2 separate regions of the Homo sapiens genome follow, and region 1 is linked to region 2. The links are contacts of gene promoters, found by promoter capture Hi-C in human tissues and cell types (Jung and others, 2019). All regions are on one chromosome and are shown on one strand. Each heading gives the region's core, a stretch centred on a gene start or on the middle of the fragment in contact. The rest is flanking DNA. Distances are from core to core; before and after follow the strand shown.

The links. Contacts are between HindIII fragments. The study calls those that stand out against the background at their distance.
Region 1: a contact is called between a fragment that was not itself captured here and the fragment with the promoter of TUBA1A in region 2, in 4 of the 25 tissues and cell types used here (dorsolateral prefrontal cortex, lymphoblastoid cells, mesenchymal stem cells and 1 more).

Annotation. Positions count from the first base shown.
Region 1 is chr12:49,040,024-49,042,523 of GRCh38, forward strand. It overlaps KMT2D (lysine methyltransferase 2D), which reads right to left. Exons shown (of 55, transcript NM_003482.4): 29 at 2,066-2,307; 30 at 1,894-1,967; 31 at 1,632-1,682; 32 at 1-1,512. Among named protein-coding and RNA genes, the nearest start is that of KMT2D, 20 kb to the right of the region's middle. The HindIII fragment of the contact is 6,740 bases long and covers 1-2,500 here.
Region 2 is chr12:49,187,392-49,192,463 of GRCh38, forward strand. It overlaps TUBA1A (tubulin alpha 1a), which reads right to left and starts at 1,689. Exons shown (of 4, transcript NM_006009.4): 1 at 1,586-1,689. The coding sequence starts at 1,588. RefSeq lists enhancers at 1,368-1,959, 1,458-1,577. The HindIII fragment of the contact is 17,236 bases long and covers 1-5,072 here.

The DNA of each region.
Region 1 (2,500 bases), core at 1-2,500, 150 kb before region 2:
TACTGTGTAGTTTGTGCTTTGAGGCTTGCCCAAGGTGGGGCCGGGCCCAAAATGGCTGTTGATCCCATGGGGTGGCGGGAGACCAGGCTGAGGGACAGGGGGCTTTAGGGAAGGCTCCCCTACTGCCTGAGGGAAAGTGAAACGCATGGGAGAGGGGGTGCCCACAAATGCACCCGTCCCAGGGGACCGGACAAAATTGGGGGGCTGCCCACTTGGGACCTTGGCATGGAGCTCACCTGCTGGCCCCGCGGGCAGGGCTGCTGGGAACCCCCCAGCCCCCAGCGAAGTGTGGGCTAGAGACCCAGCCTTAAAGGCAACTTCAGGGGGCTGGGGTCGGGGTGGCTTATGCAATGGGGCAAATGGGTCACGGGACTGAGGGCGTGAGGGTGGGCGAGAATAAGGGTCAGGGGACTGGAAGCGAGGGGTAACGGGTGATGGGCAAAAAGCTTCAGCAGACAGAGGCCGGGGTGTCAGTGGAGACTGGGAGCTGGACTGGGACTGAGGACTGGCAGGCACTCGGGAGAAAGGGTCGGAGGGCAGTGAGCGAGGGGGCAGAGCACAGCAGCTCTCAGGGGGCGGAGGTTGGGGCCGAGGAGTCAATGGGGGCTGAGCATATGGGTCAGTGTAGGAGCCAGGGCGAAAGATGTCTGGGTGACTTGGAGGAGAAGGTGCCAAAGCCTGGGCAGGGGGTGGCTCCTGGGGCCTTAGGCCCAAGCCCGGGCTCTGGGGCTCTACCTGAGATGCCCGAGGGGTCAGGGGGGCTTTGAAGACATCAGGTGTCTTTAACTCCAGGCCACCCAGGTGGGTGCCTGAGGAGGGTGAGTCAACAAAGCCCAGGTTTGGGGGCCCATAGCTAGGAGAGGATGCCCCAAGCTCTTCCTTCTTCACCTCTAGGGCCTTCCGGGACTCCCCAAAAGGTGGGGGCGAGAGCAGGGGCTCGGAAGCTTTGCCTCCCCCTACCCCAGGGCTCTCAGGCACAGCCAAGTTATCCAGCGAGGGGCAGCGGGGTTTGAGGAATGGGTCAGGTGTGGAGGGCTGGTGTCTGGGGGTGCCAGGTGGGGTAGTGTGGAATTCCCCTGGCTGGCCAGCCCCAGGACGAGATGAGGCGCCCAGCATCGGGGGCTGCGCAGGGGCCCCCGTAGGACTAGGATAGGGGGGATAGGTGGGCGGTGCCGTGGGGAAGCGGGGCTCCAGGGGATAGGCAGGGGCCAGTCCAAAGGGGTCCTGCGAAGGCACTTGGGCGGGCACCTGGGGTGGGAGCTTGAGGAAGAGCTCACCAGGCGAGTCAGGGCCAGGCACCGAGCCCGCCGGCGGCTTCAGGAACCCGTCCGCAGAGGTAGACAAGCCGGCGGGGGTAGTGGGGCTGCCAATGAAAATGGTGGGGGCAGCAGCGGGGGGCGGGCTGCCCAGTGCCCCTGGCTGCGGGGGAATGCGGAGATGTAGGGCCGGTCGGTCAGTCTTACGGGCTATGTCGCCCACCTTGGTCTGCTTGTTGATCTGGCTCTCAGCCTGCTACAGGGGGAGACCAGGCATAGGGCAGTCAGGCTGCTGCAGGCAGGCCCCATGGCCCTCCACCCTCAAGAGAGGCCACCCACTAGAGGACTGCTACACCCCAGCCCAGCCCCACTCACCTTCTGCACCTTGTTGATGCGGTGAGCTGCCCGGTTATCTTTGGCCTTTTGCTGAGGGATATGGGACACAGCCTTAGGGCCTAGTGCTTGGTCTCATGCCCCGCCCCCATACTGTAGTGTTTTCACACTCCCTACCCAGAAGCAGATCCCTTCTGGCCCAGCTGCTTTAGGAGTGGGGAGCGGAAAGAACTGAGGTAAATTACCCAAAGATCCCTCCCTCCCTCTCAGTTCCCACGCTAATCCATGCTCCTTTCTGCCTCACCAGGTAGGGGGCTTTGTCAGCTGCTGGAACCTTTCTCCAGAGCTTCATGATTTGTTTGCAACGGCTTGACCAGTCTGGAGGGCAGAGAGAGTGAGTCAGAGAAGACTTGGCAGGCGACTCCTCCACCTGCCATGTTGCCAGGCTGTCTCCCTTGCCCTCATCCCACAGGTACCTGGGTAGTCTTGCTTGAGATTAGGAAAATTAATGTTGGCATAGAGCACAGGTGAGATGGTGGACAGCTGGCCCAACTCCTCATCCTTCTCCCAGCGCTGAAGACTCCGCTGGTTATAGGAGAGTCCGTCGCCCTCACCCTCCGTGGTGGGGGTTGTGGGGGTGGAGGGCGTGGTGCCACCTGAGCCCGTCCAGGGGCTGTCGGGCTCACCGGGTTCCGGGCTAAAGAAGCCCCCGCGCTCCCTGGGGCGCAGGGGCAGAGAGTCACAGGGCGCAGGGATGCCAAGTCCCACCCCAGACAAACTGCCTAGAGCCCCAGGCCACTGCCCTGCCCCAAAAGAGGAGGGTCACTAACAAGGGAATGGGGAGGAGCAGGGGAAGTGCTGCAGGAGTCCGAGGGAGGCAAAGCATGAACTCAGATGGAGGGAAAGGACAA
Region 2 (5,072 bases), core at 439-2,938:
TACTGTCTGCTACATTATTTAACAGAGCAAGCTCTATTTCCAGCAGCTGCCTACATGATCTCATTGTGCTGTTTTGCCAGTTTTCCTCCTCTGACCCCGCCCGGGACCATGTGCCTGAATTGAAATGAATTAATTAAGATGCACTGGAACAAAAGACAACGGGATGCGGAGTATAATTCTTCTTTGTCTGTAGCAATTTCATTACTTTTTTTTTTAAAAAAAAAGGTTTTTCCAGATCTTCTCCACTGTAAAAGCTGAAAAATTATCCGTATCTTAACACACACACACACAAAAGTTCCTAAGTTAGAAACAAGCATCACATGAAAAGGTACCAAAGAATAAAAGCCCAGTGGAAGGATAATGAAATATTTATTTAAAACAACAAAATAGTATTTTCATCCTGAGATTCTCTACCCATCACATAATATTCATATTCTTTGCATCCAATAGAGGTTTTCTTCTCTGTGGTCTTTAGGGCTACCACTTTCATTGTCTATTCGCTGATGTGGTGGGGGCGGGGCGGGGGGGCGGCGGGGAAGGGCGTTTCCCTGGGTCCTGACCATCAGGGTACCCTGGGGCTCACAAAGTGGGCTTTCTCCCTCGCTGAACGTGCAGTCCAGACAGACAGACAGACACACACACACACACACACACACTTCAGTCGGTCAGGGCAGGGCGTCCCACAGACACACACACACACACACACACACACACACACACACTTCAGTCGGTCAGGGCAGGGCGTCCCCAGACCAGACATTAAAGAGCTTGTGAAGTGAATTATGATTTTGCTCAAGAAAAAAAAAAGTCATCTAACTTATAATAGTGAAGAAAACCCTTTTGGAGCCTACAGTTCCGCAATGATGAAAGGTTTTTTTGTTTTTTTTTCAGTCAGCTCCTGACAGAAGAGGTTCAGTGAGGGCGAACCCCGCCCAGTGGCTCCAACGCCATAGAAGCCAGAAACAAACAACCCCGCCCCTGCGCCGCCCTGACACCCGCTGCCGGGGGCTCCGGCAGAAACTCACCATGTTTTCCCGGGAATGTGTGGGTATCTTTCCAAAACGCCAAAGACCGCGGAGGGTCTTCCCACGCTAACCCTAGGCTGCGCTTTGTTCCCGTTCCCCCTCCCACGTCCCCCAGCTCGCCCAACGCCCCCGCTCTTTTTGGGTGCCTCCTCCTCTCCCGGTCCCCAGAGAACAACGCGAGACAGAAAGTGGCCCCTCAGCATCAGCGAAACCGTGCGCACAGACACGGGGCCCAGCCGGGACGCCCCAGACCCCTCGGTCGCGGCAGACGGGCTGCCCGCGGCCCCCGAAAGTCTCTCGGATAACACAGGCGCCTAGGCGCCGCCTTTGTTCCTCCCCAGCGCTCTGCTGCGCCCTGGGCGCAGTACTGGCCCGGTTCCTGCACCCGCACTGCGGCGGCGGCGGGGCTTGAGGATTTGGGGCTAAGCTAAACCTCACAAAACATACCACCACCCTCGCCCAGAGAGCTTACGAAAGAAAAGAGCTTAAAGGTTTTCCAAGTAGAGCCTGGGGGCGCTGACTCCACCCAACGGCCACAAAGAGCCGAAGCCGATTCTCACCATGGTTGCTGCTTCGCGACTGCCGAGCTGATGGCGGAGACGAAGAGGAGAGGTTGTTGCTTCTTACAGCGCGACTCTTAGGCGGTCGATGTAAGAGAACCTGCGGCACATAGGCGGATGCGGCTCCCTATATACAACTCGGTCACCATGGGGATGGGCCGGGGCCTTTTCCTGTTGGTCCAGACCCCCAATCTGCCCAGAGAAGCCATGACAGGAGACTGGTGATTGGTGCAAGCGACGTGGGATGAGGTAATCTCTCCCCCACCCCTTTTTCTCTAGCATCCGTAGACTGTTTGCATCCTTTAGACAAAGAGACCGTGCAGAAGCAGTCGGCCGAGCATCCATTATGGGGCGGGGTTGGGGAGGGGCGGAAGGAGAAGAAAGGGGACTGGGGTTAGAAGACTTTCTGTTGCTTAAACCTCAAACTGCAGTTAAAATTATCTATGTGAGGTTTTTTCCCCCTACCCTTAATAACAATTTATGTTTAGATTAAATATTTAAAGGAAAATGACTGCCAGCCCCTCCCTCGTAGTATATTAAACTCGACTACATTTTGTTAGGGTTCAACATCTCTAATTGCTTTAAACGTAAAGTGGGAGGGAAAATCGGCATGATGCTCGAAATGGCCTGGGTATATGTGATTTTTTTAATTTAAAAAAAGATTTAGCCATACGGTCATTCCAAATGGTTTCTCAGGTTCAACTAACTTATTTTCAGAGCTTCTTCTGCAGGCACACGCACACCCGAATAGCTAAACAAAACTGGAAGATGGAAAGAATAACCATATTAAATAAAGAAGCGAACAAATAGTTCTAACATGGCAATAATCAAGAGCAAGTGAACGTAGAGTAGTTATAATGGTTTACTAGAGGTATTCTTTTATGAGAAGTCTATGTAACACATTTTGTATGGTACATTGTCCTTTGGAATGAATCATCTTTCCTGATAGAAAATTGGGAAAATACAAGGAGAAATAATTGAGCTCAGAAGTTAGTACTACATGTGTGCAGTTACATATCTGAATTGGACTTTTGTCTGGAAAGTAACAAGCAAAATAATAGTAATAACCAATACACCAAATTAAAAAGAAGAAGAGAATAATATAATGTAAAAAGAATTTTGCAATGTCGCCTCCATCCACAGACAACTGTGAAACATCAGCTCAATAAACGCATTTCCTTTTTATGTAGTTCTTATGTCAATTTGGTAAATATCCTCCTGCGAGTGGGCTTCTAACTGTGGGAATTTTAGCCGGCCTCACACCCTTGCTGTTCAGCTAGAGACTCTGGTGGTTGCTCAGTTGTCCCTTGGGACAAAAAGGCTTTGCTTTCACCCCTAGGAAATAAATTGGAGTAAAATTATCTTGATATTTAGGAAGCCTCCATTCTCAGCAACGATCCGGAGTAAGTCACTGGACTTCGTACCACTGGATGTTGGTGATGAAATTTCAGAGGTAAATAAGTTTGGCCACTAAAGTTGAAAATTTATTTTTTACAAATAATTTTTCCTTTTGGTTTTCAGAGACAAATTTTCAGGGTCTGCAGCACTACTCACACAGTGCTCTGCGGAACCCATTCATTCCTGCTAGGCTGGCAGGCTAAGAAGGGCGTGGGAGGGAGGGACTTGAGAATACAGCTGCTGCAGGTTGTGGTGTGACAATGGCGACCACAGATTTTTCTAGCCTGCCATCCACAGTTCTGCTTTACTTGATCAATTTTGCTTCAGTAATATTCTCTGGAAAAAAAATAATATCCAAAATGCAAAAATCATTTTATCTACTTATTGTATATTTCCTAGGAAAAAATAATCCTCAACATCATCTTATCTCCACTTCTTTAGCAAAAAAAAAAAAAAAGTATATTTCAGAAGAGACAGGAGGATTAGGTATTTGAATGCTTCTTTCAGAACCCAGAAATATATTTAACAAAAATAAGAATTAAATGGCATAAGGAAGCATAAGGATTAATAAGTAGCTCATTCAAAATACTTTCACAATTTTAATAATAAAATATATCAGACACTATTGGACTATAGTAACATGTACAAGTCTTTTTGGAATGAGAAGCAGAGTTTGAACATTATTTTCTTTACAATATAAAAAGATTAATTAAGAAATATGTCACTTATCCAATAGTCTCAGTTCTTTATGCAATTTCCAAAGGATTAAATAAAAGAGAGGAGGGTTCACGTGGTTGATTCTTTGAAATTCTATCTCAGAGCCATTCTGTTCCTTATGTAAATGAGGGTTATTCCCTCCGCTTGGGCATATGTAACAAGATCTAGGTCAGAAATAGACTATTTAGGCACTGATAATCTCAAATATATAAACAAGAGATCGGGGAAATAACTAATCTATAATTTTTGTTCTTTATTATCTGATTTAATAGCACTCAAACTGTGGAAAGGAAAACAATACTTTTTTTACTAGTTCATCTCTTATTTTTATTGCCATTTAAAAAAATTTGACATCAATATACATGTACAAGTATTCTGCTAATGGATTCATTCTTGTACACAGTAAGATTAGCATAAAACATTCTTCTTTCATAATATTTGTAGAATTTTAATCATTTATTCACATGTCTACATTTCTCCTCCATTAAAATGTAAGTCCTAATTCCTGTCAAAGTGCCTAACTACAGTAGACGTTATACACTACATGTTTGCTCAATTAAATGAACAGCTCTCTGTGCAGTTTCTTTCTCTTTCTTTCTTTCTTCCTTTCTTTCTTTCTTTCTCTCTCTCTCTCTCTCTCTCTCTCTTTCTTTCTTTCTCTCTTTCTTTCTTTCTTTTTTTTGAGATGGAGTCTCATTCGGTTGCCCAGGCTGGAGTCAGTGACATGATCTCAGCTCACTGCAACCTCCGCTTCCCGAGTTCAAGCGATTCTCCTGCCTCAACCTCCCGAGTAGCTGGGATTACAGGTGCTGGCCACCACACCCAGCTAATTTTTGTGTTTTTAGTAGAGACGGGGTTTCGCCATGTTGGCCAGTCTGGTCTTGAACTCCTGACTTCAGGTGATCCACCTGCCTCAGCCTCCTAAAGTGCTAGGATTACAGGCATGATCCATGGTGCCCGGCCTGTGCAGATTTTCATTACCTATTATCATGCTTAGTAATGTAAAGATATTGGCCAGAGCGGTGGCTTACTCCTGTAATCCCAGCACTTTGGGAGGCCAAGGTGGTGGGCCACCTGAGGTTAGGAGTTTGAGACCAGCCTGGACAACATGGTGAAACCCTGTCTCTATCAAAAACATAAAAATTAGCCCTTGCGCAGTGGCTCATGCCTTTAATCCCAGCACTTTGGGAGGCCGAGGCAGGGGATTATTTGAGTTCAGGAGTTCGAGACCAGCCTAGCCAACATGGCGAAACCCCACCTCTACTAAAACAAAACAAAACACCAGCCAGGTGTGGTGGCTTGTGCCTGTAATCCCAGTTATTGTAGAGATTGAGGCATAAGAATCGCTTGAACTCGGGAGGCGGAGGTTGTA